Linked DNA regions of Homo sapiens: regions 1, 3, 4, 5, 6 and 7 are each linked to region 2. Evidence: promoter capture Hi-C in 16 types of primary human blood cells and fetal thymus (Javierre and others, 2016). All regions are on one chromosome and are shown on one strand. Each heading gives the region's core, a stretch centred on a gene start or on the middle of the fragment in contact. The rest is flanking DNA. Distances are from core to core; before and after follow the strand shown. Region 1 overlaps TEX2 (testis expressed 2). Region 2 holds the start of ICAM2 (intercellular adhesion molecule 2). Region 3 overlaps TEX2 (testis expressed 2). Region 4 overlaps TEX2 (testis expressed 2). Region 5 has its middle 15 kb from the start of SMARCD2. Region 6 has its middle 3.2 kb from the start of TEX2. Region 7 has its middle 5.6 kb from the start of GH2.

Evidence for each region. Contacts are between HindIII fragments. The CHiCAGO score rates a contact against its expected background, and 5 or more counts as called.
Region 1: a fragment that was not itself captured here is called in contact with the fragment with the promoter of ICAM2 in region 2 in 1 of 17 cell types (naive B cells); the score reaches 6.1 in naive B cells.
Region 3: a fragment that was not itself captured here is called in contact with the fragment with the promoter of ICAM2 in region 2 in 1 of 17 cell types (endothelial precursors); the score reaches 5.7 in endothelial precursors.
Region 4: a contact is called between a fragment that was not itself captured here and the fragment with the promoter of ICAM2 in region 2, in 2 of 17 cell types (endothelial precursors and monocytes). The highest score is 6.0, in endothelial precursors.
Region 5: a fragment that was not itself captured here is called in contact with the fragment with the promoter of ICAM2 in region 2 in 1 of 17 cell types (M1 macrophages); the score reaches 6.7 in M1 macrophages.
Region 6: a contact is called between a fragment that was not itself captured here and the fragment with the promoter of ICAM2 in region 2, in 16 of 17 cell types (naive CD4 T cells, megakaryocytes, fetal thymus and 13 more). The highest score is 11.0, in naive CD4 T cells.
Region 7: a contact is called between a fragment that was not itself captured here and the fragment with the promoter of ICAM2 in region 2, in 1 of 17 cell types (M0 macrophages). The highest score is 5.3, in M0 macrophages.

Annotation. Positions count from the first base shown.
Region 1 is chr17:64,216,389-64,219,585 of GRCh38, reverse strand. All of the region lies in intron 1 of TEX2 (testis expressed 2), which reads left to right. Among named protein-coding and RNA genes, the nearest start is that of TEX2, 45 kb to the left of the region's middle. RefSeq lists enhancers at 1,713-2,544, 2,747-2,946, 2,545-3,197. The HindIII fragment of the contact is 529 bases long and covers 1,312-1,840 here.
Region 2 is chr17:64,019,231-64,022,143 of GRCh38, reverse strand. ICAM2 (intercellular adhesion molecule 2) reads left to right here and starts at 1,511. Exons shown (of 5, transcript NM_001099789.2): 1 at 1,511-1,621. RefSeq lists enhancers at 1,072-1,121, 1,342-1,431, 1,177-1,677, 1,772-1,891. The HindIII fragment of the contact is 3,360 bases long and covers 1-2,193 here.
Region 3 is chr17:64,197,700-64,200,833 of GRCh38, reverse strand. All of the region lies in intron 2 of TEX2 (testis expressed 2), which reads left to right. Among named protein-coding and RNA genes, the nearest start is that of SNORA50C, 53 kb to the right of the region's middle. The HindIII fragment of the contact is 1,717 bases long and covers 997-2,713 here.
Region 4 is chr17:64,240,332-64,243,669 of GRCh38, reverse strand. The region is part of intron 1 of TEX2 (testis expressed 2); the gene reads left to right. Among named protein-coding and RNA genes, the nearest start is that of TEX2, 21 kb to the left of the region's middle. RefSeq lists a silencer at 3,216-3,338. The HindIII fragment of the contact is 4,422 bases long and covers 1-3,338 here.
Region 5 is chr17:63,856,295-63,859,316 of GRCh38, reverse strand. It overlaps the pseudogene TCAM1P. Among named protein-coding and RNA genes, the nearest start is that of SMARCD2, 15 kb to the right of the region's middle. The HindIII fragment of the contact is 6,211 bases long and covers 1-3,022 here.
Region 6 is chr17:64,264,820-64,268,122 of GRCh38, reverse strand. No RefSeq gene overlaps it. Among named protein-coding and RNA genes, the nearest start is that of TEX2, 3.2 kb to the right of the region's middle. The HindIII fragment of the contact is 6,256 bases long and covers 1-3,303 here.
Region 7 is chr17:63,886,047-63,888,965 of GRCh38, reverse strand. No RefSeq gene overlaps it. Among named protein-coding and RNA genes, the nearest start is that of GH2, 5.6 kb to the right of the region's middle. The HindIII fragment of the contact is 325 bases long and covers 1,254-1,578 here.

The sequences.
Region 1 (3,197 bases), core at 327-2,826, 200 kb before region 2:
CTGGTCTGCTTGCCTGTAATTCTCCCTTTAGATATTTTATTTTATTTTATTTTATTTTATTTTATTTTATTTTATTTGATGAGATGGAGTCTCACTCTGTTGCCCAGGCTGGAGTGCAGTGGCCCAATCTTGCCTTACTGAAACCTCCTTCTCTCAGTTTCAAGCGATTCTTGTGTCTCAGCCTCCTGAGTAGCTTGAATTACAGGCATGCGCCACCACGTCCAGCTGATTTTTGTATTTTTAGTAGAGATGAGGTTTTGCCATGTTGGCCAGGCTGGTCTCGAATTCCTGACCTCAAGGGATCCACCCACCTCAGCCTCCCAAAGTGCTGGGATTACAGGCGTGAGCCACTGTGCCTGGACTCCCTGTAGGTATTTTAAACTCATCTTGATGCATACTTGTAAAAACAAATCTATGCCTGATAATTCCATTATCTGAAGTCCTTATTTTTCTGTTATATTCTATTTCTGCTGGTCCTTAGTCTTGTTTCCTCATCTGCTTGGTTACCTTTGGTTATGTGCTTACCATTCATTGTATTTGAGAAAGTATTTCTCGGAATAACTTGAGGCTTCGGGTGAAAGTGCTTTGCTTTCGTGGGGAGAGAATTTCTTCTGCCAGGTCCCTGGAGGTATTTCTGGTCCAAGACCACCTTGGAAGAAGCTCATGGTTGAGATTCCCTGGTTCTTTCAGAGGAGGCAAACCTAGGCCTCCAGTCTAAGTGAGGCCTGGTTTGCTTCTGGTTCACCTGTTACCTAGTAGCTGTAGTCCTTTGGGGTCCCGGCTCCTTGAGGAAGAGTCTCCAGTTGGTGTTCCACGCTGGCCAGCCCTGGATGTTGACTTCTGCTCAGGAGGCTGTTAAAGTGAAAGGCTGCCGGGTGTGGTGGCTCACACCTGTAATCCCAGCACTTTGGGAGGCCAAGATTGGTGGATCACAAGGTCAGGAGTTCAAGACCAGCCTGGCCAATATGGTGAAACCCCATTTCTACTAAAAATACAAAAATTAGCCAGGTGTGGTGGCGGGCGTCTGTAGTCCCAGCTACTGGGGAGCCCGAGGCAGGAGAATCACTTGAACCTGGGAGGCGGAGGTTGCAATGAGCCGAGATTGTGCCACTGCACTCCAGGCTGGGTGACAGAGCAAGACTCTGTCTTTAAAAAAAAAAAAAAAAAAAAAAAAAAAAAAGTGAAAGTGTCCTTTGCCAGACTAGGCTAGGCCAATGCTTGAGGGCAAGGTGGCTTCTCTAGAGCTCATACCTCGGGGTTCCTGTTTTCTTTAGTTTCTGTACTGTTATTCCTTGCTCAGTTCTTGAAGCTTCAAAGCCTTTCAGACTTTTTTTTTTCTGGAGTCAGAGTCTCACTTTGTCACCCACGCTGGGGTGCAGTGCCACAGTCTCAGCTCACTGAAACCTCTGTTTCATGGATTCAAGCAATTCTTGTGCCTCAGCCTCCCTAGTAGCTGGGATTACAGGTGTGAGCCACCGTGCCCAGCCATTCAGAAATTTTTTTTCAATGTATTCATTGTTAGTTGTGTTCAGCAGAATTGTGAGCCTGATAATGGAGCCTGCCTTCCCAGACAACCAGACTCCAGACCTGTTTTTCCATGTTGCCTCTGCCACCCTCATCCATTCTGGGACGGGACGTGATTAATTTTGTGTACCACTTTGATCATGTCAGACTTTTGCTTAAACACCTCTCCAGCACGAAATCATACCTATGGGAGCCTGGCGACAACATGAGCTACAGCTCTCCTTCCCATCACAAGGCTTGGGGGGTCAGTGTTAAAACCCAAGGGCTTTGTAGTCTGCTGGAACTATGGGAAAAAGAGACTGTTGAGAAGGAAGCTTTCTTTTTTGGCCTTTCAGTTCCTGAGGGCTTGAGAGAAGCTTGTCTCTTTTTTTGAGCCTGGGTATAATTGAGTTTCAGGAGTAGAGGGCAGGAGGCTAGCCATTTTATATGGTACCAGATTGTCAGATGGATAATGAGACCTTTCATTTCTCAGTGCGGCCAGTCACATGCTGCTGGTTGAGAACTGAGGTCTTAGCTTGTAAGTGAGCTGTCCATGACGGAGCACAGAGGGCAGGTACAAAAGCTGGGACAAAGCAGGAATAAAGAGCGTGTGTGGCATGTTTGAAAAGGCACCCTGCCGGGCATCGGGCCTCAGTGTCAGGAAGCCCATGTTGTCAGTGCTGTGCCCTTGGACAAACCATGTAGTCTTCCTGGGTGTCAGTCAGGTCCTTCCTCTTGGCCTTGGCTGTCCTGCATGGCTGTGGCTGTGGGAGGGTCGGCTCAGTTGGCCTTAGCAGCCAGCCACTGGGAGGACAGAGAGAAGAGGGAACTTGAAGTGGTCCCCAGGAGGAGGCAGAGGCAGTGACCACTTGATAGGTTGTCTAGAGCCCAAACCATGGTCTCTGGTTCTAGCACACTCAATTACCCAGCAGTTTGGGGCCTGGAAGCAGCCTTTGTTTATCTAGCCTAATCCCCTCATTTTGCAGATGAGCAAACAGAAGCCTGGACATTTTCTTGTATTTAAAGAGCAGTAGTGATGCTCCGGCCTCGTGTGGCTTATTTTAGTAAAAATCTAGAGAAGTGGAACCAGGCTTTGGTTAGTGTGGGTTTGGGGGCATTTACTGTGAACCTCTGAGGCCACTGTCTGAGTGAGCCCTGGAGGACAATAACAACAGTGAGCCAGAGCCTGCCCCCATCTGGCCACCTGACACCCAGCTCTCCCTGGGGCCCACCTTCAGCTCTGTCCGCCCAGTCTGATCAGAGGTCGCTTTACCTGGCCAGTCAGGGGGCCCAAGTGTGTGGAGGATTAGGCAAGCAGGGTCCTGGTGACCTCCACACGAAAAATAACTCTGCTTCCTGAGCAGGTGCCAGCTTTTTGTTCCCTGGGGCCTGGCCTGACTGCTGAGACCGCAGGCTTCTGAACGCATTGCTGTTTTCACCCTTTGGCGCTAGGCTGGGCCTAACTTTGCCCTTAGATTCCCAGGCCTTCTTATCCTCAACTGCAGACGGGCCTCTCCACTCTTGCCTTGGTTCCTGAAGGACCGATTCACTCTGTTCAACCTCAAAATCATGCACTTTGTACTTGGACTTGTGCCCACAGTTACCTTCATTTATAGCCACCGCTGTGGGTGAAGCAGCCTCAGAACAGCAGAGCCTTACATATCATCCTTTTATGTTATGAAAGCAACTTAAAT
Region 2 (2,913 bases), core at 262-2,761:
ATTGCTCAGCCTTCAAAAGGAAGGCAGTTCTGGCCAAGCGTGGTGGTTCATGCCTGTAATACCAGCACTTTGGGAGGCTGAGGTGGGCGGATCATTTGAGGTCAGGAGTTCGAGACCAGCCTGGCCGACATGATGAAACCCCATCTCTACTAAAAATACAAAAATTAGCCAGTCGGCACGTGCCTGTAATCCCAGCTACTCAAGAGGCTGAGGCAAGGCCAGGCACGGTGGCTCATGCCTGTAATCCCAACACTTTGGGAGGCCAAGGCGGGCGGATTGCCTGAGCTCAAGAGTTTGAGACCAGCCTAGGCAACATGGTGAAACCCCATCTCTGCTAAAATACAAAAGAAATTAACCAGGCGTGGTGGCGTGCACCTGTAGTCCCAGCTACTCAGGAGGCTGAGGCAGGAGAATTGCTTGAACTCGGGAGGCGGAGGTTGCAGTGAGCCGAGATCACACCACTGCACTCCAGCACTCCAGCCTGGGCGACAGAGTGAGGCTCCATCTCTACAAAACAAACAAACAAACAAACAACAACAACAACAACAAAAACACTGAGGCAAGAGAATCGTTTGAACCTGGGAGGCAGAGGTTACAGTGAGCCAAGATCACACCACTGCACTCCAGCCTGGGCAACAGAGCGAAACTCCATCTCAAAAAAAAAAAAAGAAAGAAAAGAGAAAGAGAGAGCTCCAGAGATGGATGGTGGTGATGGTTGCAGAACAATGTGAATGTACTTAGTGCCCCAAACTGTACACTTAAACATAATTAAAATGGGCCTAGCACGGTGGCTCATTCCCAGCATTTGGGAGGCTGAGGTGGGAGGATTGCTTGAGCTCAAGAGTTTGAGACCAGGCTGGGCAACATAAGCAACACTCTGTCTCTACAAAAACTACAGAAATTAGCCAAGCCTGGTGGCTGCACACTTGTAGTCCCAGTCACTTGGGAAGTTGAGGAGGGAGGGTCACTTGAGCTCAGGGGTCAGAGGTTGCCACGAACTGTGATTGTGCCACTGCACTCCAGCCTAGGTGACAAAAGCAAGACTCTGTCTTAAAAACAACACAACAAAAAATTGGCTGGACGCAGTGGCTCTTGCCTGTAATCCTAGCACTTTAGGAGGCCGAGGAAGGCAGTTCACTTGAGGTCAGGAGTTCGAGACCAGCCTGGCCAACATGGTGAAACCCTGTCTCTACTAAAAATACAAAAATTAGCCAGGCGTGGTGGCAGGTGCCTGTGGTCCCGGTTACTCTGCGGGCTGAGGCACAAGAATCACGTGAACTCGGGAGGCAGAGGTTGCAGTGAGCCGAGATCACACCACTGCACTCCAGCCTGGGTGACTGAGACTCAGTCTAAAAAAAAAAAAAAAATTGAAATGGTAAATTCTGTTGTGTACGTTTTACCACAATTAAAAAAAAAAAAAGCGGAATGGGAGTGGAGCTAAATGAGGCTAGTTTAGGGTGGGAACCGGGGCACAGGAAGCACGTCACTTCTGGTGGGGAGTGGGGGGAGGGAGAAGACTGAATAAGCCGTGAACTGGGCAGCTGTGACACGCGCACCTTGTCACCTTGTCACCAATTTCCTGCCCGGGATCCCAGAGCTACCCTTCTTGGAGCCCACAGGGGTAAGGTTGAGCTTCTCACTTTCCCTCCAATGAAGCGTGGCAGCATGGGAAGGATTTTGGCAGTGTCGAGGTCTGAGTTTTAGTCCGTTCCCCTCTCTGGGTCTCAGTTTCTCGCTGGTAAGTGCAGGGGTTGGGGAATCCCCAGCGCTCCTGTGGCTCGACATTCTGCACTCTGTGAAGCTCCTGCCCTGCCCTGCTGGGTCTCTGAGCTCACGCACTTGCCCTGGCGCTCCTTTCCTGATTTGTCTCCCCTCTCTCCTTCCTCTGCTCTGCCATCTCGGTGGCCGATGTAGAAATGTGGGGCTGCCTCCTTATTTAGGGGCCCACGTGGGCTGTGATCTGGACCATCTGAGCTGATGCAGAGGGGAAGGGACAGTCCCTGTTCTCCCCGGCAGGCGTGGTGGGTTCATAATGAATCTCAGTCACTCACTTCCTACCTGCCTCGGTTCGAGGGGGTCTTTCCTAACCCATGGCTCACATTCCCATGAAGCCTCTTCTTTCTAGGCACGTAGAAAGGCCCTTTTTCCCTTTTATTATTTTTGTAAAATTTACTAGGTAACGCATAAAAAGCTTATGTAACATACATATACATCATACTGCACAGTAATATACCAAACACACCTGAAGCTGCCACTCAGCACAAGGATGGAGTATCACCAAACTGCAAACACCACTTATCTGCTTTTTTTTTTTTTTTTTTTTTTTGAGACAGAGTTTTCATTCTTGTCGCCCAGGCTGGAGTGCAGTGGCACAATCTTGGCTCACCACAACCTTCGCCTGCTGGGTTCAAGCGATTCTCTTGTCTCAGCCTCCCAAGTAGCTGGGACTACAGGTGCGCATGCCACCATGCCCAGCTAATTTTTGTGTTTTTGGTAGCGACAGGGTTTCACTATGTTGGCCAGGAGAGTCTCGATCTCTTGACCTCATGATCCGCCCACCTCGGCCTCCCAAAATGCTGGGATTACAGGCGTGAGCCACCACACCTGGCCACCACTTGTCCACTTTTATGCTACTTGCCTCCCACCCACAGGTAGCCACCCTCTGGAATTTTGTGTTTATTGTTCTCTTATTTTTAAGTGCTTTATTACATATGCATCTCTATTTATTTATTTATTTATTTATTTACTGAGATGGGGTCACACTATATTTCCCAGGCTGGAGTGCAGTGGCTATTCACAGGCATGATCATAGCACACTACAACCTCGAACTCCTGGGATCCAGTGATCTTCCCACCTCAGCCTCCTGATTAGTTGGGACTACAGTCTTGAACTGCTGCACCTGGCTATGCCTA
Region 3 (3,134 bases), core at 606-3,105, 180 kb before region 2:
GCCAAGCCCAAGCAGAATAAAGGAATTTGGGTCCCCTCCAGGCTTTCGCAAGAGAAGGAAAGCATCTCCTAGATTCTCTTTCTATGCCTACCTACTTCTTGCCTCTCACTTCTGCCTCCTGCAGTGCAGCAGGTAAGGTTTTGTGCTTTTGAACTGTGTAGGTAGGACTTGAAACTCCCTTCTCTCTTTCACATTCTTCTGAATCAGGTTGTTCTGGGATTCCTGAATTTGGCAAGTGGTAGAGGATGACCTTTATCTGTCAGAGCTGTCAGCAAAGAAGGTAATTGCATACTCATCTCAGAACTGTGCCCATGTGTGAGCGAGCACACAGGCTGCAGCCAGCAAGAACTCCACAGTGGCTGTTCTTCAGCTAAGGTGGTAGCTCAGGTTGCTGGGTTGAATGCCTGGCTTTGTGGCTAAAAACCGAATCCCTGAAGCACTGTGGAAATGGTTGCTCTTGTTATCCAGGGACAGGAATTTTCCTAGGAATAATAATTGAGTAGCAGTTGGTTAGACTGGGGCAGAGTAACAGCTCAGCACCTGAAACTGACCTGTGAACAGATGAGCTGGTGTATGTATCTCAACACACATGCCTGTATGTCTTGTTTTGTTTTCTAAGTCTAAAAATCAAAAGAATAAGCTAAAAAAATGATATGTTTGTCTATTAATTATCTTAATTTTCCTATAGAACTATGAGTTTTTCAAAAGCCTCCTACATAGAATACTCTTATTAATATTTCTGAGTTTTTAATATTGCAGGTTAACTTTTAAAAGGGATTTTGAATTTCTACAATAGATTTCATTAGGTGATTACTTAGATTATCTTCTCTCATTTAATTATGCAAAGCATCTAATAAAATGGCAGAAAACTGCCATGTACTGAATGACTGTCTCTTATCACTAAGACTGAGTGTGTTGAAAGCATGCACAAGAAGAGAAAGGAAGGCTTTGCCCATTCTATTCATAGTTGAGCCAAGGGTCTAGGGCTAAAAAGCTTGAACCCAATAACTGGCCCTGAACTGTCTCTTATATACTAGTCCTGAGCCCTATGTGGCTGTTGAGCCCTTGAAGTGTAGCTAGTTGGAATCAAGATGTGTTCTAAGCGTAAAGTACGCACTGGATTCTGAAGACTTGGTATGAAACAGAATGTAAAATACCAGTAATAATTTTTAATATTGATTACATGTTGAAATCATAATTTTGATATGAATTTAAATAAAATACATTGTTTAAATTAATTTTACCTGCTTTTTCTTTCTTAATGTGGCTCTTAGACCATTTAAAATTACACATTTTCAGCAAGGCGCAGTGGCTCACGCCTGTAATCCCAGCACTTTGGGAGGCCAAGGTGGGTGGATCACTTGAGGTCAGGAGTTTGAGACCAGCCTGGCCAACATGGTGAAACTCCATCTCTACTAAAAATACGAAAATTAGCCGGGCGTGGTGGCACACACCTGTAATCCCAGCTATTCAGGAGACTGAGGCAGGAGAATTGCTTGAACCCAGGAGGTGCAGGTTGCAGTGAGCCAAGGTAACGCCACTGCACTCCAGCCTGGGCAACAGAGCGAGACTCCATCTCAAAAAAATAAAGTAAAAATAAAATTACATATTTTCATGATCACATTTATGGCTCACATTATATTAATATTTCCATTGTACAGCACCTCCCTGGACAAGTCTGCATTTTCTGATTTAGGAAAGACGAAATGAAAGCAATTGGAGAGAAACAACTTTTATCCCTAAGTTTCTCTTATTCATAAATCAGATAATTAACCTGTACAATCCCAGCAGTTTCAAATGGGAAAAATCCCCACAGCTTACTTTACTCTATTTCTCAGAGACTGTCCTTTTCTTGGAGAACAGTTTCATGTAATATAATACTTGTCTTTTTTTTCTCCTTTAGCCCTTCTAGTCTGGTGGTGAGTGGTTGATAAACATAATGCAGGGATTTTTGTCTGAAATTCCAGTATCATGTTAATCCTTTTTTTCTCATTTGGTGCCAGTATCATGTTAATTCTACTGGCTTTTGTACATGTATCTGTAATTCTATGTACCTGGAAATAACGAAAAATATTTTATATGGTGATTTGTCGCAGTAATGTCTATCTTATATCAAATTGTGATTATCATAATTCAAAAACAGCCATTAAATAAATGCTGAGCATCTCAGCTTAGGTATTAGGATGGACGAAGGCAGTATCACACATAATCCATATTCTCAAGTAGCCTCTACTCTAGCCAGCAGATGTGTGCTCAGAGTGAAATGATTCAAGAAGAGCAATTGCATGCAGGGACTGTATGGCCAAATGGCTCATAAATGACACTGATAACAAGTGGCTGTTTTGATCTAATAGAGTTCTCATCAGCTCCAACTTCCCCCCGCCCTTCATGGATTCTTCTTGGTTTTAGTAGCTCTGCAAGCATAAACAACCTCTGAAGTATCTTAGAAAAACGATTATATCTGCTTCAAGTTCTTTATTAATCTAGTTGCCTTTAGAACTTTAGCCCTGGTAAACCTGTTATATATGTAAGACAGTATTTTCTGCAACCAAATTGAATAAGAAGAAAGCTGTGTGTTCTGTGTCAGGAGATCTTTGGTGAAAATGGTTGTGCTTAAAAAGACAAATAAATATATTTATAGAAAACCCTACTCAACAGCAGAATGCATTTTTTTTAACTGCACTTGGAACCAAGATAGACCATATAACAAGCTTAAAAGAATTGAAATTATACAAAGCCTGTTTCCTATTATGAAATTACACTAAAAACCAGTAAGAGAGATATCTGAAAATTTCTCAAATATTTGGAAATTAAGCAAAATACTTCTAAACAGCCTGTGGGCCTAAAGATAAAGTCATAAGGGAAAATAGAAAATATTTTTAACTGAAGGAAACTGAAAATACAACCTATCAGAAATTGCAGGTAATACAGTGCCTAGAGGGAAATTAATAGTATTAAAAGCTTGTTAGAGGATGGGTGTGGTAGTTCATGCATGTAATCCCAGCACTTTGGGAGGCCAAGGTGGGAGAACTGCTTGAGACCAAGAGTTCAAGACCAGCTTGGGCAACATAGCAAGACTCCATTTCTACAAAGATCTTTTTAAAAAAATTAGCTTGGTGTAGTGACACGTATCT
Region 4 (3,338 bases), core at 38-2,537, 220 kb before region 2:
AAGATGCAAAGTTTTGAAGAGAAAGTTTGCTGCTGTTACAGACACCATTTTCCCTTGAGTGTTAAAGCGTTCAGCTGGGAATGTCCCTTGTTGGTTGTTCCTCAGTAAGATTAGCAGAGCTGGAACCTGCCAGCCAGGCCTCATTTTGAGACTTGTACAGCCTGACAGTAGTGCTTCCAAAAGATGCACCTCCCCACTCACATCAGGAGCTGAGGCCCAGTGTTTCCCCCAAGGGTCTTTTTGAAGAAGACATTTTTGTCTAATAACAGTTTTATTATTTTTATTATTGAAAAAGCTGTACCAACTCTGTATTCATTTTCCTGGTTATTCATATGCTTTTTTCCCCTGAGAGTCAAAAGATGGGTTTAACCTTTGACCTTGTGGGTTTTTATGGCCTGAAATTAATTTTTTAGAGAAATTGCTTTATCTTTAAAAAAATTTTTGGCCGGGTGTGGTGGCTCACGCCTGTAATCCCAGCACTTTGAGAGGCCGAGGCAGGCGGATCACGAGGTCAGCAGTTCGAGACCAGCCTGGCCAATATGGTGAAATCCCGTCTCTACTAAAAATACAAAAATTAGCCGGGTGTGGTGGTGTGCGCCTGTAGTCCCAGCTACTCGGGAGGCGGAGGCAGAAGAATCGCTTGAACCTGGAGGGCAGAGGTTGCAGTCAGCTGAGATCGTGCCACTGCACTCCAGCCTGGGTGACAGAGCAAGACTCCATCTCAAAAAAAAAAAAAAATTTTTTTTTTTTAGAGATGGGATCTCGTTATGTTGCCCAGGCTAGTCTCAAACTCTGGCCGCAAGTGATCCTCCCACCTTGGCTTCCAAACGTGTTGGGATCATAGGTATGAGCCCCTGCACCTGGCCAAATTGTTTTTTACATTAGTTATGAAGGAGGCATTGCGTGCCTGTATTATGTGTAACACAATTTGAGAATACATGTTTTTAACAAAGTACGTTATGAAAACTGCATATGTTGGATTTGTGTCCTGCTTTTAAGTCCTTTGCTGTACTTTCTCACAGGCTGGGAGGAGGATGATTCTGGTTCAGAGGCAGGCCCTGGCACCACAGGTCTGAAACTGCAGTCCTCTTGGTGGCAACAGCCCTTTGATTTCTACTTCCAAACCCCTGGTAGATCACATCCTGCAGAGGAGCCTTTATTTGTATGATCAAGATATGACAAGTTTCCACCACCCAGAAGTAGTAATTCCTCCCTTTTCTGGAAGGATCCTTTTCTTTGTTACAGCAACTGGATTAGATTTTCCATGTCCTAAAAGAAATGTATTTTCCCAGCAGAAACAACCTTATACAAAGTGGTTCCGTGGAGGAGAGAATTACCATGTTATAGTCCTCAGGAAGGCTTTTGTTCCTGGAAAGGATACCATTGAATAGTGACATCTGAGTTTTAAGGTAGATTTCACTTTCTTATAGCAACAGTGCTGTAATGTTACATTATGGAAGCTAAAACCTGATGCTCAACTTGTAAAATATACTCAACTATAAACATTCCTCTTCTGAACTATATGGAATTTTCTAAAAAGGACATAAATAGGTTACTTAGGTATTATGTGCAGTGTTCCTTCATTCATTCATTAAACTAATAAATATTTCAGTGCCAGCATTGGGATACAGCAGTGAATAAACCTAACTTTCTGCCACATACAGCATATTTTTCTTGTGGGGCAAAAAGTAACAGGTAGGCAATGTCAGACAGTACCGTTCTCAAAAATAAAGAGAGAGCCAGGTGCAGTGGCTTACTCCTGTAATCCCAGCTCTTTGGGAGGCTGAGGCAGGAAGATTACATGAGCCGAGGAGTTTGAGACCAGTTTGGGCAACAGTGAGACCCTGTCTCTATTTAAAACATTGAAAAACTAGCTGGGTGTACTGGCATGTGCCTGTAGTCCTAGCTACTCAGAAGGCTGAGTAGGAGGATTGCTTGAGCCCAGGAGTTCGAGGCTGCAGTGAGCTATGATCGCACGAGTGCACTCCAGCCTGGGTGATAGAGTGAGATCCTGCCTTTAAAAAAAAATAATAATAATTTTAGAAAGATAATAAGGGATGAGGAGGCCCCACTTTTAGGATGAGGTAGTCAGGAAGGTCTTTCTGAGAATGTGACACTTGAGCTGAGACCCGCTGTTATTTTTACTACAACAAATTTTAGGAGTAACAATTATCTTTGGGATCTTGGAATTCAGTGAGGCTTCTTTTCACAGATTTTGATAGATTTGTTTGAAGGACCTCTTGAGGAGTTAGGACTTTGGTGTCAGTGTCCTTTTGAGAGAGAGACCCAGCCATATCTGTTTTTTCCTTATTGTCAGTTTTCCTGCGGCAAGAACTGGAGGAGAGATGAAATTACCGCTTGGCCTCTTGGCCGCAGTTCAAAGCAGAACTGAGCATCTTCCTGCTCACTGGTCGGCTTCTGAGCTCAGCACTGAACCTAGCTGCCAGACATTAGACAGTAGTTCCCAACTGTCTTCCAGACGCATGAACCGACCCCTCAGCAGTCACTCCATGAGCTCTGACAACCCCAAATGCTTTCCCTGGATTTGTCACTGCATCTGGAGGCCAGCTGGCTTCAGCATGGCCCTGAATCCCAGACACAGGAGCCTGGGCACAGGGTGAAGGATTGCGGCTGTTGGCCTGAGGCTATTTTTCTTCTGAATGTCATTTTAAGCACTGAGTCACAAAATTCTAAGTCTTTTAAGCAGCAGTATAATACTGCCAATGATGCTGCTGCTGTTTAAAAATTTTTTCACATGTGACCTGCTCAGCCCTGAAGTTATTCCTATTACTCCAGAGTCCCAGAGTACATTAATAATCAGTGTTTGTACAGGGCTGCAGTTGACAGATCCATTGCCATACATCTTCCTTTAATCCCCACAATACCCTATTGTTACTCTTGCCTTGCTTTCCCCTTCATCGACCAGGCAACTGACTCTAAACCGATCAAGGAAGAAGAGGGACTAGCCATCCAAGGAGACAGACACTTATGCCAGGAATTTTGTAGAATTCCTTTCATTCCCCATGCAAATGCTAGGAGGTAGACTTTATTTTTCTCATTTTGAAGCTCAGAAAGTTTCTGTCACTTGCCTGAGGTCACACAGCTGGTGAGGGGCAGAGCTAGAGTTTGACTGCTCAGAGGGGTCAGTCTGAGTTGGAAGCATATACTCTTTCTACTGCACCAGGCGCCTGTCTGACCTGCCTGAGGACAGCCCTGCTTGCTCCCTCCTCTTCGTAACTCCACCTCCACCCTCTTCCTCTTCAGTGTCCCCTCAGTCACCTTGCCCAGTGTCTGAGCCAGGACAGGGTGTCGTGGGCTGGCCCGTGGGTGGGCAGTGA
Region 5 (3,022 bases), core at 74-2,573, 160 kb after region 2:
TGCTCTGGTGGCTCTTTAAGACAAAAAGGCAGGACTTGATGAGCATGCCACCCACCTCTCCAGAAAGAAACAGCATAGGACAGAAAGATGAGGTGATACAAATCACAGAAGGTGACTGCCACCCTTAAACCATCTGATCAGCAATGTCAGCTTTCTGCCATCCCTGCCCTAGATGGGGTGAGTTAGTCTTCTGGCTCTTCTTCTTCGCATCAAAAGTGGCTATGGCCATAGCAAAGAAGAGTGACTGCTGAGGGAGAGTCCCTTGCTTTGACTGTTGCTGCCATTCTGGAAAGCATTGATCTCTTACCAGAGGGGCTTCAGAGGCAAGAGCAGCTTCCGGGGGCTCCTTAGCATCACATAAAATCTATACTGTAGCAGGCCAGGTGCAGTGGCTCACGCCTGTAATCCCAGTACTTTGGGAGGCCAAGGCAAGCGGATCACTTGAGGTCAGGAGTTCCAGACCAGCCAGGCCAAGATGGTGAAACCCAGTCTCTACTAAAAATACAAAAATTAGCCAGGTGCGGTGGCAGGTGCCTGTAATCCCAGCTGCTCGGGAGGCTGAGGCAGAGAATTGCTTGAACCCGGGAGGCAGAGGTTGCAGTGAGCCAAGATTGTGCTACTGCACTCCAGCCTGGGCAACAGAGCAAGACTCCATCTCAAAACAAACAAACAAACAAACCAAACTATAGCTAACCAAGTTCTGACCCCATAGAGACCACATTTGCTTTCGTGCCATATCTTTGTCCATGTTATTTGCCCACCTGAAAGGCCTTCCTCACCTGTCCCCTTCAATTCAAACCCTAACTATCCTGGGGGAGGGCAGTGCAGGAGCCTCCTCTACCATGGAGCCTTCTCAGGCTGCCCCAGCTCACAAAAACCCTTCTCTCTCCAATCTCTGTTTATTCCAAGAGCTTGTAGCAAACAATTCAGCATTAATTTCATACTTTTTTTTTTTAAGAGACAGGATCCCACTCTGTTGCCCAGGCTGGAGTGCAGTGGTGTGATCATAGATCACTGCAGGCTTGAACTTCTAGGCTCCGGGGATCCTCCCACCTTAGCCTCCCAAGTAGCTGGGACCACAGGTGCACGCCACTATGCCTGGCTAATTTTAAAAACTTCTTTTGTAGAAACAGAGGTCTCACTGTGTTTCTCAAGCTGGTCTGAAACTCCTGGCCTCAAGTGATCCTCCTGCCTTGGCCTCCCAAAGTGCTGGGATTAAAGCATGAACCACTGTGGCCAGGCTAATCTTATACTTTTTGGTAATTTAACCATAAACATTATTAGCATATGTTTCCTGTATTGAAGATATTTTCAAGCACAGATAATCTGGATGCTCTCTATGGTCTGCTCCTAATTTAAAACTCAGAAGAAAGCCTACATCAAAGGGAAGTAGAAGTGGGCCCGGCTCACTTCTACTTGCTGGACTTGAGGTGGCTCACACCTGTAATCCCAGCACTTTGGGAGGCTGAGGCAGATAGATCACTTCAGGTCAGGAGTTCAAGACCAGCCTGGCCAACATGGTGAAACCCCTGTCTCTACTAAAAAAAATACAAAAATTAGCCAGGCATGGTGGTGGCTGCCTGTAGTCCCAGCTACTGGGGAGGCTGAGGCAGGAGAATTGCTTGAACCCAGGTGGAGGCTGCAGTTAGCTGAGATCACACCACTGCACTCTAGCCTGAGCAATAGAGCAAGATTCCATCTCAAAAAAAAAAAAATAAATGAAAAAGGTGATTGGATCTAGAATCCCTACAGTATGCCAGAAATCTTTATTAAGGGCCTTAATTATCTCCCCTAATTAGAAACATTTGTCCCATCCTTCCCTAAATAAGACATGTTCATGTTTCCCCATTCCTCCTTTCCATCCCCCTGCCCCCAGCCCTCAGCCCTACTCACAATACACAGTGATGCCAAGGCTTGTGTCCTTTTGAATCCCTGCACAAGAGAAGAAGCACTGCAGGATGGAATTCTCTGTGACATCCTCCAGAAGAAACTCTTTCCACTGAGGCCCTTTGCCCACCTGAGTTTTCTTTAAGAAGGTCTCAATTCCACTGGGTCCTGGGTCTGGGCAAGTAGTGCTGCAGTTGACCACTAGGGACTGTCCAAACTCCACCAGGGCCTGACTTGGCCAAATAGAAACCTCAAACAACTCTTCCGGGACCCCTGAAATATGAACCACATCGGCCAGGCGCGGTGGCTCACGCCTGTAATCCCAGCACTTTGGGAGGCCGAGGCGGGCGGATCACAAGGTCAAGAGATCAAGACCATCCTGGCCAACATGATGAAACCCCGTCTCTATTAAAAGTACTAAAATAAGCTGGGTGTAGTGGCGCACGCCTGTAATCCCAGCTACTCGGGAGGCTGAGGCAGGAGAATCGCTTGAACCCAGGAGGCAGAGGTTGCAGTGAGCCGGGATTGTGCCACTGCACTCCAGCCTGGCAACAGAGCAGGACTCCATCTCAAAAAAAAAAAAAAAAAAAAATGAACCACATATGCCAATGACTCTGGTGAGGACCACGAGACCCAAATAAATACAGAACCTATTCTATCTAGTTCCAGGTTAGAGAACAGGAAACCTGCCCTGAAAAAAAAGGTTCAGACAACCAGACAGGACAAAAGACCTGTAATTGGCCGGGCGGGGTGGTTCACGCCTGTAATCCTCCCCACTTTGGGAGGCCAAGGTGGGCGGATCACCCGAGGTTGGAAGTTAGAGACCAGCCTGACCAATATGGAGAAACCCCGTCTCTACTAAAAATACAAAATTAGCCAGGCATGGTGATGCGTGCCTGTAATCCCAGCTACTCAGGAGGCTGAGGCAGAGAATCACTTGAACCCAGGAGGCAGAGGTTGCAGTGAGTTGAGATTGTGCCATTGCACTCCATCCTGGGCAACAAGAGTGAAACTCCGTCTCAAACAAACAAACAAAAAAAAACTGTAGTTAACAAGTTAGCTCTGATTTCACCACTATTCCCTCCACCTATCATCTTTCTTGAGAACTTGAATTCTCTATTAGTATCACCATGGA
Region 6 (3,303 bases), core at 210-2,709, 250 kb before region 2:
TGGACCCTATCCCATCAGTCCTCCACTGCACAGTCTCTTCATTCTTCTTCTTCTTCTTCTTCTTTTTTTTTTTGAGATGGAGTCTCACTCTGTTGCCCAGGCTGGAGTGCAGTGGTATGATCTCAGCTCACTGCAATCTCCATCTCCCGGGTTCAAGCGATTCTCCTGCTTCAGCCTCCCGAGTAGCTGGGATTACAGGCATGCACCACCACGTCTGGCTAATTTTTGTATTTTTAGTAGAGACAGGGTTTTACCATGTCGGCCAGGCTGGTCTCTAACTCCTGACCTCAAGTGATCCACCCACCTCGGCCTCCCAAAGTGTTGGGGTTACAGGCGTGAGCCACTGCACCTGGCCGATTCTTCTTTTTTCTTAGCTCTTCTCCTCAGCCCAGCTCTAGGGAGCCTCTACATTTCCAGCCACATCTATGCTGCATGTGTCAATGACCCTAATCTTCTAATTTCGAAATCCCAGAGCATACTTTCAGGCCTCTTCTAATTTGACCATTCTGTGGCATCTGTTGCTGTTGACTGCTCTCTCTTTCAATCTCTTCTCCCTTGGGTTTGGTGACTCTTACTTGGGTTTTTGTAAACTTTCTGGCTTCTCTTCATAATGAACTTCATCTGGCCACCCCTAAAAACATTATTGGGTTCCCCAAGGGTTCTAAGTGCCTATTCTGTGTCCCCACGGCTCCTGGGCTTCCCTCTAAGGAAGCCTATAATGGTCTATCAACGTGTCAGTTTCTCTACTAGATCTAGCATCTACAAGTGCCTTCATCTCTATCCCCAGTACTCAGCCCGCCACCTGGTACTGAGTGCACAGTGATTGCTCATTAATGGTGTGGCTTGTGGCATGATGATCCCTAATCTTTGTTAGATATACAAGTGGATCAACTTTTTGGTTTTCTGTACTTCTTAACCATTTCTGTCTCCAAGAATGCAATGTCAAAAACAGAATTAAAAATCTTAGGCTGGGCATACTGGCTCATGCCTAATCCCAGCACTTTGGGATACCGAGGCAGGAGGATCATTTGAGCCCAAGGGTTCATGACCAGCCTGGGACAACACAGCAAGACCTCATCTCTACAAAAAGTAGAAAGAAATTAGCCAGGCATGGTGGCGCATGCCTGTAGTCCCAGCTACTCAGGAGGCTGAGGTGGGAGGATCACTGGAACCCAGGAGGTCAAGGCTGCAGTGAGCCATGAGTGTGCCAGTGCACTCTAGCCTGGGTGACGGAGAAAGACCCTGTTTCAAAACAAAAAATAAAATCTTAGAGCATTTTTTGGTTTGTTTAGAAATTGGTGAGAAAATAGGGATTATCTTGAAATGCAATAATTGGGAATCTTTCAAGTATATCAGAACCTATGTGGGCTTAACCTGATAGTTGAAACCTGGGTTTCAAGAGAGCCTGGCATGAGGGTTGAGGGGTTGGGGGTAGAGAAAGAGGGGAGAGTATTAGCTTGGGCTTGCATTTCTGTGACTTAAGATCCTACTCTAGGTGAAAAAATTTAGATCACTTGGTACATGCTATACATATAGAGTAGCTATCTGGGGGACAAAGTAAGGAATCTTGCTTGATATCTGAATTTAGCCTCACAATCCCTAACCTTTTTCAGAGGTACTACAATGAGTCACAGATGCCAAGCTCTAAAATCACTCTTTTAAGCATGATTTGAGCCAGGCACAGTGGCTCACGCCTGTAATCTCAGCAGTTTGGGAGAGGTTGAGGCAAGAGGATCGCTTGCACCCAGGAGTTTGAGACCAGCCCTGGCAACATGGCAAGACCCCATCTCAAAAAAGCCTGGTGGTTACGGTCATGAATGCTGGCTCTTCCTTCAACTAGCCCTGCTATCCTGGACACATCACTAATCTGTGAACTTCAGTTTCTGCATCCATAAAAAGGAGAAAATAATGGTCATATCTACCCTAAAGAGTTACTGTAAGGTTTCAGTGAACTGCTATGTTCCAGGGACTTGGCATAGTACCTGGCACATAGTAACCTCTTAATAGGTAGGAAACAGGCCAGGCGCAGTGGCTCACACCTGTAATCCCAGGACTTTGGGAGGCCGAGGCTGAGGTGGGCAGATCACCTGAGCTCAAGAGTTCAAGACCAGCCTGGCCAACATGGTGAAACCTTGTATCTACTAAAAATAAAAATAAAAAAAATTAGCCAGGTGTGGTGGCGTGTGCCTGTAGTCCCAGCTACTCAGGGAGGCTGAGGCAGGAGAATTGCTTGAAACCAGGAGTTTGAGACCAGCCTGGACAACATGGTCTCAAACTCTTGGGCTCTCCTCCTGAGCGGGGGTTGCAGTGAGCCAAGGTCACGCCACTGCACTCCCGCCTGGGCAACATGACAGAGGCTGACTCCATCTCAAAAAAAAAAAAAAAAAAAAAGGTAGGAAACATTATTGTGTTATGATATGTTCATTTATTTTTCAATGCATCCAAATTCCTCAGATTTCAAAAAGAAGGGATCCTTCTAAGTGTTCATGCTGGATCTTACTGGCTTCTAGTTTGAGATCTGGTTGGTAGTGTATTAATTAATTTAATGCTTACGTGGAGCTTGGTAGGGAAAGGAGGTTGGTGGGCACTCTGAGAGGCACATTGCCAGCTTCCAAGGACCTTTGCAAGGGGCAGCTCCAGGGCCCCTACCCTTTCTCTCTCTCTCTCCCTGAGGCAGGGGGCTGAAGATGTGGCCAAGGAGAGCTTCAGGCTGTGTCTCCATTGGTAACTGCCTTTGTTGCACATTTCCAGAAAACCACAACTGGAAACCTCTTCTGTTGGGACATGAATTCTTTTTCCTTTGGGAAGGGCAACAGAAGCAAGTGGTGATCCCAGGCAGTAATGCCTGCAGCCCAGAGACTGCATTCTCATGAGGCTGATCAATCCTTGTGCAGAGTTGTCCCTGGCAACACAACATCCATCAGAAATCACAGCACAAACAGGGTTATTGTGTGGAGGCCATTCCAAGAGCCTGAGATCTGTGTGGGAGGCAGCTGACCTGCAAGATCTAGTGGGCGAGGGCTGACCTCCAAGTCTGAGGACAATGACTTCTGGGTCAGGCAGGTGTCTGGGATACTAGGAAGGGGAGAGGAATGTTGCCAGGAGGGTAGGCAGGGCTTGCTGGCATTGGAATGAGGCACCAGAGTAGCAGGGCATTCTTCTGGGATCATGACTGGGCCTGGTGGTGAGCCGGAGTGTGTCTGCCATTAAGATATTTATGCACTGTCTCACGGGTCAGAGAACTAGCCTGGCTTCCCTCTGCTTGAGGCATCAAATCTTCTTCCTGCTTGAGGATTTCAATCT
Region 7 (2,919 bases), core at 167-2,666, 130 kb after region 2:
TCTAGCTTTCCTAATATATTTTTGGAAGCCAGGAACAATGTTTTGTTCACCACTGTATCCCCACTGCCTTGTATGTGGTGAAACCAAAGGGTTACTTTTACACTTAATCTATAGCACCAGACTCAGGGGAGGTCTGGGAAGAATGGGAAAACGTTTTCCCTCTGCTGTCTGATGCCATGGTTTTTTCTAGCTGGTATCTGCAATTTGGAAGGCTATGGACCTCTCTCTATCTGGAAGTCTGACCTTTAGCTTTCATTTTTGTTCCTTTATTTTGCTTTTGAGACAGGGCCTGGCTCCGTTGCCCAGGCTGGAGTGCAGTGCATGATCTCAACTCGCTGCAACCCTCCACCTCCCGTGCTCAAGTGATCCTCCCACCTCAGACTCTCAAGTAGCTGGGACTACATGCATGTGCCACTATACCTGGCTAAGTTTTGTGTTTTTTGTAGAAATGGGGTTTTGCCATGTTGCCCAGGCTATTCGCAAACTCCAGGGCTCAAGTGATTCACCTGCCTCAGCCTCCCAAAGTGCTGGGATTACAGGCGTGAGCCACCACACCAGCCTGAATTTCAGTTTTGAAAGCAGGTCAAATAGGCTGCTGCCCTCAGTTAATGCACCCCCGGCCCTGGGCTGGTTGTTTATGCTATCAACACGGTATTTTTTCCTTAGAAATTGTACTTAAAGTTATAAAATGCAGCCGGGAGTGATGGCTCAGGCCTGTAATCCCAGCACTTTAGAAGGCCGAGGTGGGTAGATCACGAGGTCGGGACTTCAAGATCAGCCTGGCCAAGGTGGTGAAACCCTGTCTCTACTAAAAATACAAAAAATTAGCTGGTCATGGTGGTGGGCGCCTGTAATCCCAGCTACTCTTAATCTATAGAGGCTGAGGCAGAGAATTGCTTCAACCCGGGGGTGGAGTTTGAAGTGGACCGAAATCACACCACTGCACTCCAGCCTAGGCAAAGAGCGAGACTCCATCTAAAAAAAAAAGTTATAAAATGCAGCCATTTGACATAAGAGCTTTTAGCAATGACACAGAAGGGAAGGGAACTGCATTTGGACATCATAAAACCACTTTTATTTTTACCATAGCAACATTCCAGTGAACATTTCTTGACTGATTTGGGAGAAAACATCTGGTTCTGTGATTCCTCACGCCTTCTCCGAGGGTGAATATACTCTTTCTCAAGGACAGGGAAAGAAGCTGAAACATAAAATCATATGAACATTTTCACAAGAAGATTCCTCTTGAAGCTTCAAGGAAATTGTTTACAGACAGAAGAAAATATGCACTTATTGATGAAAAGGGAGAGTAAAGATTGGAACTTTAACCTAGATGCCCATATGGGTAAAAAAAAGAAAACTGGCAAATGCGAACTCACAGTTGATCACTCTATGAAAAGGAATTCAGAGATGTTTGGAGCTCTTAACCTATGAGGCCAATTTCATGGAAGAACTCTACCTTCTCCTTCAGAGACAGAATACTGAGCTAGATAGGATGCCCGTCTGGCCCAAAGTGGAATTTCTTACCATCTGTATACTCCCCCAAGACCCGCAACAGATGGTTACTGAGTTGAAGCTTGCCACTGATCCTTAATGATGTCAACAAGCTCAGCTCTGGGAGCTGGCCCTCCAGAAGCCCAGGTCAGGGGAGCAAGGGAAAGTGGAGATAGGAACAGAGCTCTGATTCCTGGCCCCATATTTGATACTTACTCCCTTCAAAGTCCTGTCCTTGGACTACAGATTTAGTTCCCAGTTAGTAATCAGAAAACCATGAAATATGAGTTGTATTTCTAAGATATGCCTGACTTTAGTATGATGTTTAAGAGAAAAGGGCAGTGAGAACCATGAAGAAACGGCAAGATCTTTTCTTTTTTTTTTTTTGGATCTAAGAGTGGACTGATGATGCACCTGGCAAGGAGCAAGAGGCCTTCTTACAAATCAAACATTGAGACTGAGATTCCTAATGAATAGAGTGAGCTCTAAAGAGAAAGGTGGCTGGGCGCGGTGGCTCACACCTGTAATCCCAGCACTTTGGGAGGCCAAGGTGGCCGGATCACTTGAGGTCAGGAGTTTGAGACCAGCCCAGCCAACATGGTGAAACCCCATCTCTACGAAAAGTACAAAAATTAGACAGGCATGGTGGTGTGCACCTGTAATCCCAGCTGCCAGGGAGGCTGAGGCAAGAGAATCACCTGAACCCGGGAGGCTGCAGTTGCAGTGAGCCAGGATCGCATCATTGCACTCCAGCCTAGGCGACAACAGCAAGACTCCATCTCAAAAAAAAAAAAAAAGAAAAAGAAAAAGAAAAGAAAAGAGAGAGAGAGAGAGAATGGTGAGCTTGTGGACATATTGGACACACAGGACATGGGGCATGGGGGCCTGAAACACCGTTTTACAGGACAGACGTACACAAAGGGGAATGCAGCCTGCCATTGTGTTTCTTCCTTTCTCCTCTATCCCTTCTTCCCTCCCTGGGAAACCACAGTAGCAGAAGTCTCATTCAATCAAACAGTTGTCAATTATATGAGTTGTACTTTTCTCTTCCTGAACAGCAAACTGGCTTTCCTCCTCTTTGTCCTCCTCTTTCTGCCTATAGAGCAATTTCCTCCTGTCCACTTTGCAGGGCCGATAGCTCAAATACAGTGCTATGGTGATGACACCCACTCCAAGGGCAACGGTAATAATGACAAAGAGGGTAGAGCTTATTCCTTCATCCAGTCCTGCCCAAGCACAGAAGATAGAGTTAGGAAAGTCTGAGAGTACAAGGATCACCCACCCCAGCCCACCAGGCCCACTTCTGAGTCTCATTCTTCCCAACCTAGTAGAATCTTTCTTATTTTCATGCTTAGATAAGAATCCCAAACCCCTGAGGGGTTTCCATCCTGGGCCTGGCAGCAGGGCAGCAAAGGTTACCTTGAA